Linked DNA regions of Homo sapiens: regions 2 and 3 are each linked to region 1. The links are contacts of gene promoters, found by promoter capture Hi-C in blood cells and fetal thymus (Javierre and others, 2016). All regions are on one chromosome and are shown on one strand. Each heading gives the region's core, a stretch centred on a gene start or on the middle of the fragment in contact. The rest is flanking DNA. Distances are from core to core; before and after follow the strand shown.

What was found. Contacts are between HindIII fragments. The CHiCAGO score rates a contact against its expected background, and 5 or more counts as called.
Region 2: a contact is called between a fragment that was not itself captured here and the fragment with the promoter of PSEN2 in region 1, in 2 of 17 cell types (M1 macrophages and M2 macrophages). The highest score is 5.9, in M1 macrophages.
Region 3: a contact is called between a fragment that was not itself captured here and the fragment with the promoter of PSEN2 in region 1, in 3 of 17 cell types (total CD8 T cells, naive CD8 T cells and erythroblasts). The highest score is 5.7, in total CD8 T cells.

Annotation. Positions count from the first base shown.
Region 1 is chr1:226,868,898-226,872,778 of GRCh38, reverse strand. It overlaps PSEN2 (presenilin 2), which reads right to left and starts at 2,163. Exons shown (of 13, transcript NM_000447.3): 1 at 2,130-2,163; 2 at 1,375-1,517. It overlaps LOC105373119 (a long non-coding RNA gene), which reads left to right and starts at 2,229. Exons shown (of 3, transcript XR_949226.4): 1 at 2,229-2,417. RefSeq lists silencers at 1,701-1,750, 1,761-2,360. The HindIII fragment of the contact is 3,629 bases long and covers 1,485-3,881 here.
Region 2 is chr1:226,543,907-226,547,787 of GRCh38, reverse strand. No RefSeq gene overlaps it. Among named protein-coding and RNA genes, the nearest start is that of STUM, 2.9 kb to the left of the region's middle. RefSeq lists a silencer at 1-40. The HindIII fragment of the contact is 3,206 bases long and covers 482-3,687 here.
Region 3 is chr1:226,607,511-226,611,391 of GRCh38, reverse strand. STUM (stum, mechanosensory transduction mediator homolog) reads right to left here. Exons shown (of 4, transcript NM_001003665.4): 4 at 2,162-3,881. Among named protein-coding and RNA genes, the nearest start is that of STUM, 61 kb to the right of the region's middle. The HindIII fragment of the contact is 6,073 bases long and covers 1-3,881 here.

The sequences.
Region 1 (3,881 bases), core at 914-3,413:
GTGGCAGCTGGGAATAGAACAGGTGGGAATACTTGCAGAAATATTTGCTGTCTTATCAGTCCCCAACTAAACAGTGTCCGAAAGTCAAAGCAACAGCTGAAAACCCGCCAGAGATGTTTTCATTAGACACACTGCATGTGACCTACACACACTGCTTTGGTTTCTTTAAAAAAATTTTGTTTGTTTGTCAGGAAGTTGCTCATGGGGACTCCACAAAACTTTCCCAGCAGTAGTGGAGAGACACGGGTAGGAGTTGAATACAGGAACCTCCTGCGCAAAAACTCAAGAGATAAAGACAGTGTAGCCAGCTATGTTCAAATCCTGGTGCTTAAAGCACTGAAGCCACATAACTGGACTAGCTGCTTAACTCCCTGAACTTGTTTCCTCTTCTGTAAAAAGGTAATAATAAACTATTTCAGTGTCATTGAAATTCTTAAGATCTTAAATTCTAATATTCTGTACAAGATAGCTTTTTATTATGACCAACTCATAAGCGAGATATATGTCATTATTAACATCGATAACAGAGAAAGGCCAAAGTAGGCAAGAGGCAAACCCCCCTTGGGGGGACGGTGAGCAGCTACGGAGGGGAGACAGGTGTGACATTATGCACCACAGCTCCAGGCACCCCAGCAGCAGCCCCTAGCCCTTGCTCCTCCTCCTCCTTGCTGCTCTTTCAAATAGACAGGAACAAGCCACTCACTCCCCACATGTGAACATGCTGGACTCAAGACTTGGCACATGGGCACTTCAACACCAAAGGGTACAGAGTTTTCCCCAAAAACCTGATACATCCATCCCACTTCAAAGCAACATGCCCCCAAGCCCTCACTCCAGTCTCTGCCCTGGAACCCAAGGCTCAACGTGGGCGTCGTGAGGACGCAGCTCTGAGGTGGGGCCAAGAACCAGGCCCCTTCTGCACCTGCGCCAGTCACCGGCTGCCCACAACCACATTCAGGAGAGAAGAACCTGAGGCTCACACACCTGAAGCAGCTTATCCCGAGACTCCAATTACCGCCAAAGGTCTTGGCTGAAGGCCTTGGAGGCTCAGGTGTCTGCAGAATTGGCTACAGAGGCATCAGAGGCTTCCTTACTGGAAGCTGGGGTCGGTCCTAATCAAGTTACTTCGTAGACAGCCTTGGCAACCCCAGGCTGTCGCTTCTGAGTTAAGTTAGTCTACAATCGTCTCTATGGAATGCTCTCAGGTTCTCCATTTGTAAATAGGGATGCAGTTACTTCACTCAACACCGTTCATACCTTTCAAAGGGAATACTTATTAAGGCAATAAACAGGGGTGAGGTCTGCTCGGAGGGATGGACAGCAGATCTAGAAGCCAGGACACTGGGGTCGAAGCCTGGCTCTGCTATATCGTACCTGGGCGACCTTGGGAAAAGTCACTTTAGCTCTGTGGCCTCAGTTTCTTCATCAGTAAAATTCAGAGGGGGGACTAGCTTCTGTCTCAGGTTCCTTCAGCTCCAAAAGCTTGCTTCTGGCTGTCTCCTCACTGCTGGAAATGCCTGATAAAACAGCCAAACACCGCTGCTAACAGAAACCGGCTCTAGGCTTGAGCCTGCGGCCCTGCCCCTCACGTGCGGGCAGAGCCCCCGCGCGCCTCCTTCCCGGGGAAAGCATGCCCAGGACCCGGTGCTAGAGGCCGAATGGACTCGGCGCAACGGAGGTCTCCGGCGAGAGAGAAGAAGAACAAAACGCCCCCGCCTGCTACACGCCTCAGAGACCCACGTGCACCGCTCCTTTAAATGCACCGGCCCTTTAACCGCTCGCGCCGCGCCCACCCCCAGCCGGGGCTCGGCGGCAGGCGGGCGCAGGGAAGTGGGGACGCAGTGAGGCCGAAGGCCTGAGGGCCGCTCCCCGCGATCCTTCCACGACCCAGTTCCGGGCCGGCCCAGCCGCCGCCTGCCGGGCACTCTCCTCTCTCCGCCCCCGCGCTGGCCGCAGAGGCCAGGAGCGCTGCGCACGCAGGGGCCGCAGACCCACAGCCGGGGAAGGGACCGTGGCCAGAGGCGTGCGGAGGGCAGGGCAGGGCCCTCAGGGCGCAGCCCCACCCCGGGCCCTCAGCGCCGCAGGCGACAGGGCCCTGGCCTGGGCACCCCCCGGCACCGCCCGCTCACCTGCTCTGCCGCCGCGCTCCAGCGGAGTTTACGCAGCTGGCTGAGCGCCCGGCCGGACCCGGCGCCGGCCCAGGCCCCGCCCCACGCCCGCCCAGGCCACGCCCGGTGGGCGACGCCGCGTTCCCTCGTCCACTGGGGCCCCACCTGGAGTCCCGGGCGCGCGGGGAGGGTGGCCTTCACGCCGCGTGGATGACAGGGTCATCCCGACGTCGGAACTAAGCGACGACCTTAGAAGGAGTGGAGGCCGGGCCTGTCATCTTCCTGCGGGCCTGGCAGCAGCGTGGGGCGGTAGGACATAGGCTTCGAGGACACTCTTTCTTGTAGTTTTGGGTCCACATCCCCTCCTCCTCCCGGTTGTTCTCACATTAAAGGAGCACTAATGGCCCAATGTGAGCTAACACCATGAGAATGTTCCTGGTCTGTTCCCTAGGGCGCTTCAGAGCCACCAGGAGCTCTGCATAAAATTGAACAGGAATAAATTGCTGCCTGACCTGAGAATTGGCCTAGGGGGTTGTGGTTCCAGGATTTGGGGTCTGTGGGGTAGGTTGAGATTGTCAATAATTTGGCGTTGTCTGAGTAGTTTTACTTTTTTTTTTTTAACTTAAGGTGAAATTCACATAACATAAAATTTACCATTTTAAAGTGGGCATTTCAGTGGCATTTAGTGAATTCACAATGCTGTGCAACCACCACCTCTGTCTAGTTCCAAAACATTTTCCTCATTCCGAAAGAAAAACCCCATACCCATTGAGAAGTTTCTTCCCAATGCCCTCTTCCCCCCCAGCCCCTGGCAATTACCAGTCTACTTCTGTCTCTATATTTACTTACTTTAGATACTTCATATAAACGGAATCACAGTGTGTGGACTTTTGTGTCTTTCACTTAGCATGTTTTCGAGGTTCATCCTCAGGTAGCATGTAACAGACTTTATTCCTTTTTATGACTGAATAGTGTTTGTGTGTGTATATGTATATGTGTGTGCGTGTGTGTGTGTGTATCATGTATGCCACAGTTTATTCATCTATGGACATTGGGGCTGTTTGCATCTTTTGGCTTTGTGAATAATGCTACCATGAACATGCATGTACATGTATTTGTTTGAGAGCCCATTTTTATTTGGGGAGGGTACATACATAGGGGTTGAATTGTTGGATCGCATGGTAATTCAATTTTTTTTTTTTTTTGAGACAGAGCCTTGCTCTGTTGCCCAGCCTAGAGTGCAGTGGCCGCAATCTTGGCTCACTGCAACCTCTGCCTCCCAGGTTCGAGCAATTATCTTGCCTCGGCCTCCTGAGTAGCTGGAGTTACAGGTGTGTGCCACCACATCTGGCTAATTTTTGTATTTTTAGTAGAGATGGGGTTTCCCCATGTTGGCCAGGCTGGTCTTGATCCTGAACTCAAGTTATCTGCCTGCCTTGGCCTCCCACAGTGCTGGATTATAGGCATGAGCCACCGTGCCCAGCCTTCAGTGTTTAACTATTTGGGGAACCCCAAGTGGTTTCCACGATGGCTGAACCATTTTATATTCCTACCAGCAATGTACAGGATCCCAATTTCTCCACATCCTCACCAACACTTGTTATTTTCCATTTTATTGTTATCCTAGTAGGTGTGCAGCGGTACCTCATTCTGGTTTTGGTTTACATTTTCCTAATAACTAATGCTATTAAGCATTCTCCTTTTCATGTGTTTGTTGGCCATCTGTATATCTTCTTTGGAGACATGCCTATTCAAGTCCTTTGCCCATTTTAA
Region 2 (3,881 bases), core at 835-3,334, 320 kb after region 1:
CTGCTTCGCCTCCGCACCTGGAAAAAGTAAACGGATGAAAGTTACCGCCTCTAACGTTAGGGAGGGGTTAAAGGCTTCGGAATTATCCAGACAGTCAGCAAATCGTCTGAATAATTGGAAGGGTGCAATAGCCTCCCTTCAGGAATAATAGTGATTATTATTATAAACAACCCAGGGTCTCAGAAGAGGCTAAAAGAACATGGGTTATTGTATACTTATACTTATTGTATAAGTCTCTGAATAAAATAATTTTAAAAGCAAATGGCCAGGGGTTAGTGATGATACTGGTGGACACACACATGCGTGTGTACACATACACAGATACACACACACACGAGTCATTAGCTTAGGTTTGGCAGTCAGAAGAACAGGGTTAAAAATTTTAGTCTTTGTTCAGCCACTAAAACCTGTATGGCTTAGAAGAACTCGCTTAGCCTTTTCTGGCCTGGAGTTACTGTGTTGGTTAAAATCATAGCAAGCTTCCATTTAATACACAATTATTGAAGGCCTACTAAGACTTAGATTCCAGGGAGAGAGAAATGAGTAAAATCCAGCCTCTGCCTTCAAGAATCTAAGAAATGAGCTGAGAGATACTGACAACTACAAAGATAGACTTACAGAAACAGTGAGGAATGTTGCAGCTGTGATGTGCTGGAGGTGCTGCGACAACATGGACCTATCTGTGAAGCCAGCTAGCGTGGGGGAGGCCTCGGGGAGGTGTCCCAAAGAAGGCGATACTCAAAGGGACTTGAGCAATGACTACAGTTAACTATTTGCAGATTTGTTTTATTTTCAACAAACACTTATTTACCCAAGCACTCTCTGCCAGGCATCATTCTAAAAACCCTTTACACATTTTAACTCTTTTAATCCTTACCATAACTCTACAAAGTAAGGATTATTTATTACCCCATTTTACAGATGGGGCAATTGAAGCACAGAGAAGTTAAACAGGCTGCACAAAGTCCCCCACTAATCAGTGGTAGAGCTGGCAGCTGAATGCAGGCAATCTGGCTCCAGAATCAATTCTATATAACCAGTATTTTATTCAGAGACCTAGAAAATAACCCACATTCTGTGAATATTCTTTTGCAGAGCACTTGAACTGTCTTAGGGCCAGTCAATCATTCCTCCTGGAGAAAAAGGATTTCAGGGACGTCAGTGGATTTGCATCCCCCAGTTTTCCAGATGATTTGCTGAATATCTTGGATGTCAGAAAGACATCCAGGCAGAGCAACAAAATATACAAAGGCATGGGAGCCCAGGGAAGTAGGGATGATTCCAGGAATTGCAGTGTGGCTGGCACTAGGGCTTGTGTGGGCAGAGACAGGAGATGGATCTGGTGGGGTGGACAGGCATCTAGTACTGAATGGCAAAGGAATTTGGACTTCATCTCGGTGGTGGTGATGCAGAATCACTGGAACATTTTAAGCAGGGGTGTGGCATAAGTGTTCCAGTTACTATCACTGTGTCACAAATTACCCCCAAATTTAGCAGCTTAACACAACCATTTTTTTCTGATCACAAATTCTGTGGTCAGGAGCTTGGACAGAGCACACCAAGATAATTCTTCTTTGCTCCTTGTATCTGGAGCCTCAGCTCGGGAGACTGAAATGGCTGATAGCTGGAACAGCTGGGGCTAGAGGATCCACTTCTGAGAAGATTCTCAGGAATCTCAGCCTGCCTGGACTGGGGTAACTTGAAAGCTGGGTCAACTAGGATGGGTCAGCAAAGCGCCTACACATGGCCTCCCCACGTGACTTGGACTTTTCACACTATGACAGCTGGCTTCTGAGAGGGAATTTCCTGAGAGGAGGCCCCCAGAGAATGAACATTGCAGGACCAGTGGAAGCTGTGTGGACTTGGACTTTTCTGCCCTAACTTTGGAAGTCACACAGTGTCACTTCTGCAGGGCTTTACTGGTCGATGCAGTCACAAGCCTGCCCAGATTTCATGGGGGACACCCCGCCTCTCTATGGAGGGGTGTCAAAGACTTGGGCCTAGGCTTTAAAACCACCACCATTATGAGATATATTTGTTCACAGTGTGGAAGATGGGCTGGAGGGGATAAAATCAGGTCACATGCTTATATAGAGGCTGAGGGGGAGGAGGACTCTTCCTGACTGAAAAGGACTGAGAATGGGGTAGGGACAGTTCCCAAATGAAAACTGGGTATTAATAGCAGACAAGGAGGAAATGAGTTTGAAGGGTCTGAACACATCCGAGAGGTAGCGGGGACTCATTGATAAATGGCCAGCATAGATAATTGTCTTGATAAAAGTTGGATATTGAGTCAAATCGAGAATCAAGGAAGCAATTGGGGCTGCAGATTTGGGAGCCATCAGCATACAAATGGTAGTTAGAGCCCTGTATGCAGATGTGGAATTTAAAAAGTCACAGAGGCTGGGCGCAGTGGCTCATGCCCGTAATCCCAACACTGGGACGCTGAGGCAAGAGGATCACTTGAGCCCAGGAGTTCAAGACCAGCCTGGGCAACATGGCAAAACTCCATCTGTACGAAAAATACAAAAATTAGCTGGGCGTGGTGGTGCACACTTCTAGTCCCAGCTACTCAGGAGGCTGAGGTGGGAGGATCACCTGAGCATGGGGAGGTCGAGGCTGCAGTGAGCCGTGTCGCACCACTGCACTTCAGCCTAGGCAACAGAGTGAGACTCTGTCTCAAAAAAAAAAAAAAAGTTACAGAATTTCTGTAATTAAGCAGAAAGGAAAAAGGAGGGAAACGAGGTTTACATGGAGAAACACTACTAACAGTGTTTCATGGAAGCCAAAACAGGAAGATTTTAAGGAGGATGCAGTCAGCAGTGTCAAATTCACTGAAGGGTAAGGTAAAACCCCAAAAGTGCCCTTAGATTTGGCAGTTGGGAGATTTAACTCTCTGAGATCCTAGCTAAAATGTCTCACATGCTATGTATCCCTTTTCTAGGAACGTGTCCATTTCGTGGAAGTTATGGAATTTGTTGGCATAAAACTTTTTCTACTTTCCTCTTATCTTTTTAATGTCTGTCAAAGCTGTAATGATGTCTCCTCTTTCATTTCTTATATTGTTCATCTGTACATTCCTTTTTTCCTTACCGCTCTTGCAAGAGGTTTATACAGCATCTACTTGACATTGTGATTGCAGCTGATGTTTGTAGGAGAGTTTAAGATCTAAGGTATTTCAGGGAGGAAGAGGCTTCCGAATAAAAGTTAAAACCTTAAATGATCATCTCAAAAAATCAGACACAAACGCAACAGGGGAAACAGACCAAACAGTTCATTACATCAGCCAAATAATACATCTGGGCCAAGCACTGGGTCATGAAGATAAAAATATATTTCTTGGCCTTGTTCTGTCATCAGATGAATAAAGTACATCAAGTTTTGGACATTTTTTAGCTAAAATAAAAATTTGCTGAAGTCAGCTTCCAAACTGCATGAGGAATTCCTATTCCAACCTGGAAGAGAGCTTCCAGGTGGTTCCTTTTTGGCAAAGACTGGCATCATAGCATCAGCAGTGGAAAGACAAACTTTGTTTGAAGCTCTGAGCCTTTGAAAAAGTTTTTTAACCTCTCTGAGCTTCGGTCTTCAAAATTGTAAATAATACCTAGCTCATTTGTGTATAAGAGGATTAAGTGAGATAATACGTATAAGGCACTCAATAAGTAAATGGCAACTGAATCAGAAGCTTTTTCATGCCAAGTGATGGAACACAACTCAAATTTAGTTTATGGGGAAAAAAGTATGGATGTAATGTCTTTTTGATGTATCAACTTGGCTAGGCTCAACTCTAGCCCACAGAATTCCCTTTCTAGTTAGTTTCCATTTATGTTGGGCCAATGGGAATATTCTTGCTCAAGAGTTGGAAGGCAGAAGGGAGGCAG
Region 3 (3,881 bases), core at 435-2,934, 260 kb after region 1:
AGGAGCCTCGCCCCCCCTTTCCTATGTGGAACCTGGGACTCAAGCTGTGGGCAGGAAGCGCTCTAGCAGGGTCTCTGGCCCAGCGAGACTCCCTGTTTCCCCCTTTTCTTCCTTTTCACCCAATAAAACCCTGTCTCACTCACCATTCAAATTGTCTGTGAGCCTGAATTTTCTTGGCTGAACTAAGGAAAAGTCCTGCAACTTTATCACCCCAAGTTGTTCCTGACGTGTTTTATGTAAACTGAATCTTGGGTCCCATGACCCTTCCCTAAGGCTTTACTCAGAGGCTGACTTGGTATTAGGAGCCCAGAAATGTCCATCTTGGTCCTCTTGGGAATGAAGACCCATCCTCTGGTTTCGGTGGCCCAACATGCAGCCTGCACTGATGTGCCTCCCAGGGTCCCCCACCTGGGACTCTCACTGCACTAGGTTTGGGCTGTGCTCCTCCTCTGAGGAATGCATCGCCAACCCCGTCCTCAAACCCAAGCACTGCCTTCCCATCTCCTCGAGCCCCTCGTCCCCTGCACATCCTCATGTGTCCCTTCCTGTGACTGGCCACTGGCAAGCATGAGCCTCTCCCAGGGCCTAGGGTCTGGGGTGTAGGGAGTTGCGGGGAGCAGATGCCTACATGTTTGTCACAGCCCTTTCCTTCTGGGTTTGAGGAGAACTCTGTCAAAGTTGTCACCCCCCAGCAGAGAGGCAGTGGCTGGCTCAACCCACGTGACCCTTCCTGAGGTTAAGAGGCTTGGTGCTGGGAGAAGAGAAGGAATGTGAGTTAGTACATTCAAATGGTATCTTCCCTTCACTTGGCAGTGCTGGAAGGGGAGCTAACTTTATCTCCCATTGTGCCTTCTGATGAGCCCCTCTGAAACTGAGTGACTGCAGAAGAATCCTCCAGCCGGGGCATTCCAGTTTAATCTGAGCACATCGAGTGTTTGGACAATGCAAGTGATCACAAAATGCTCCCTAGAGTGTCTGGGGGACTCTGAGAGTGCCTTAGGTCATTGTACTGCCTTGGGCTTTAGGTCCTGGTCTTAGCAGCAACTGAAATCATCCTCAGGCACAGATGCCATTTCTGGGGCCTTGGAGGGGCCATCGCAGTAGAGCTTCAAGTCTCACCAGAGGTTGTGCTTTGAAGATGATTCACTCTTTTGGACAACAGCAGCATCGAGGCCATTAAGACTGCAGCCTCTCCTGGGGTAAGTGGACCCTAAGGGTGCTGGGCTGGCCTGAGGAAATGGCAGGAGGCAGGGCGGGGCCCTTCCCTTGGGTGTGAGTGACAGGAATGACACCTGGACACTCGTTGTCAGAGCACTTGCTCCCCCATGGCACCCAGTACTGAATGCAACGCTGCAGATGCGGTTTCATTCCGGACCCCAGCCTGCAGCTCCTCGTGCATCTGAAACCAGATGGCCTGTGTAGTCAGCCCCAGCATGCCGTGAAGAACACTGAGCTGCCTGTTGAGTAACTCCCCAGGGATGAAGGAAAGCACGGAGCTTTCTTCATGTCAAGCACAACTCTTTCATTGAATGCTATTAGATTTCATCGAGTTAGATTGCCTCTGCCCGTCAGGAGATTTTGGGATTCTGATTTGTTCGTCTAATATACTTATTTCTCCTTATCCACAAATTTGGTCAGTTCTGTAGGTCTTCATCCCATTATGAGTAAAGGCATTGGCTGGGTTGTGGATGCAATTCTCTCCCAGGTGCAACCTGTCCTTCGTTGTAACTGAACAGGTAGTTATACATTCTCCTAACCACTCTTACCCAGACTCTCATTTATTCAGAAGTCTTTGTCAAATATGTATGTTGCCCACATTTCCCTCATCAACCAGTCTAACAATTAACAGCAGGAAATGAGCTGCATCTGTACACTTATTCTTGGTAAACTCAATCTGGGGCCTGATGCTTGATTTAGCACGCAAATTCCTGGTTGCAAAGGGATCAGATTATCAAAGATGAGGCTGTTTGAAGAGTAACTTGCACAAGCCTTTCGGAAGAAGGGGAATTCGGGAAAAAGGTCTGAAAGAACTCAAGACCCGCCTTGGGGGAGGACAGCCTTCATAACGGAAAGCCAACCAATAGCAAAGGCTGCAGAGGTGGGGAGGAAGGCGCGTTGTCCCAGAGATCTGTCCGATTAGGAACACGGGAGGACACAGGGATTTGAGAAACTACCAGAAAGGTCACATGAATGTTTATTACAACATAGAAAAGAGGGAAAGGAAGAAAAAGGTTTCCAAAGCCGTATTTCCAAGGATTTAAAAAAACACAAACTTGGAATGCCAAAGAGATGTCATGCTTTATATATTTATAATAGGAAGGTGTGTGTATGTATAAATATGTACATGGAAATATGTACACAGGTTTTGACTGTCATATATAGTATTTTTCATTGCATGTACAGTAATGCTGCTTGAGTGAAGGGTTTTAAAGCTGGCAGAAGGCTGGAGAATCTGGAACCCTGCTTGGCCCCTAGAGGGCGCTGTGGAGACCACCTAAGCAGCTCCCAGGGAAGGTCTGCCGGGGCTGGGGCTGGGTCCTGAGGGTGTTGGGGAAAGCTGAGCTGCAGGCGGGCTGGGGCCCCAGGCTGCAGGGTTCCGGCCAGGGCAAGTCTGGAAGCGTCCCTACGTCCCCGACATTAGACGTTTTCTTCCAAGAAGGGTTTCAGTCATTGGAATAGGCTGGAAATACCCTCATGGCTGGACTGGGGTGGGGTGGGCTCCCAGCAGGTCAGGGTAGAAGTGAGACAAGAAAACCCCAGGAGCTCAGGGTCTTCTCTAAGAACAGTGAAAACGCACAGCAGTTAATTTCACAGAAAGAAGAGAGACCCAAACAAAGCCAATCACGGTGTCAAAACACTGCAAATCACAACACAACACTCATTCATATGCAAATTAAGTTGATACACACAGAACCAGTTGTTTTGTTTTTATATATGTTGTTTAAAAAAAAAATGGCACCACGCACAACAGCAGGGAACTCAGCCAATGAAAAGGGCTGGCCACAGGTTCTCATGGGTGCCCAGGCCTTCTGGGGTGACGGTGCCCACGAGGAGCCTATTACAGCCACCATCACCTTGTCCCTTGCTTGAAACATCCAATCAAGCGCTAACCCAGAAAACGGTGAATGGAACCTCCCTCTCCCTTCTTTCCTCCCTGGTTCCTGTGCTGGAGCAGGTGGGTGGGAACACTGCCCCTCTCCTCTGGGCAGGTCTGCCTTCTCCTTCCCACAGGAGGCCAAGCTGGGGTTGTGGGGAATGGGCACAGCCAGGTTTGGTGCTGAGCCCATTCACCCTAGGAGTGCATGGGAGGAAGAGATCCACAGGCTAGGGCCCTGGAGACAGGAAACAGCATGTGCATGTGGGCTGGGCAGGGGTCAGGGATGTGATGAGGGAAAAAAGTGCTGCCAGCCAGTGCCCATCCTGGAAGAGGGGGTGTGGGCTCCTTTGGAGATAAGTCCCAACCCTGAGGCTCCAGGCAGACCCTGGCCTGCATCCCCCAGCAGTCAAAGGTGCTGGGAATGTGTGCGAGTGTGTGCCTCTGTCCATGTGGGGGTGAAATGCAATGGGGATGGACTGTGGCATCCACACCTGCCCGGATGGTTGGCATTTTGGCAAATTCAGGCAGAGAGGGAGAGGGTTTGAGGGCCGAGTTTCCCTAGCTAAATGCAAATCCAGATGACTTGCACTGGAAACTCAGGACACACACATGGTGGACGCTACAGGGCACCTTTCTGCCCTCTGCGGTAGCATCAGGAGGGGAGAGTGGAATTGGGGGCCAGTGTTTCTGTTCTGCTAGAAAGAATCTTGCCAGCTGCAGCGAGGAGGTGAGGCCTGGGCAGGAGCGGACAGCCCTTGCCCGGATGGGGCTGGGCCTCCAAGCC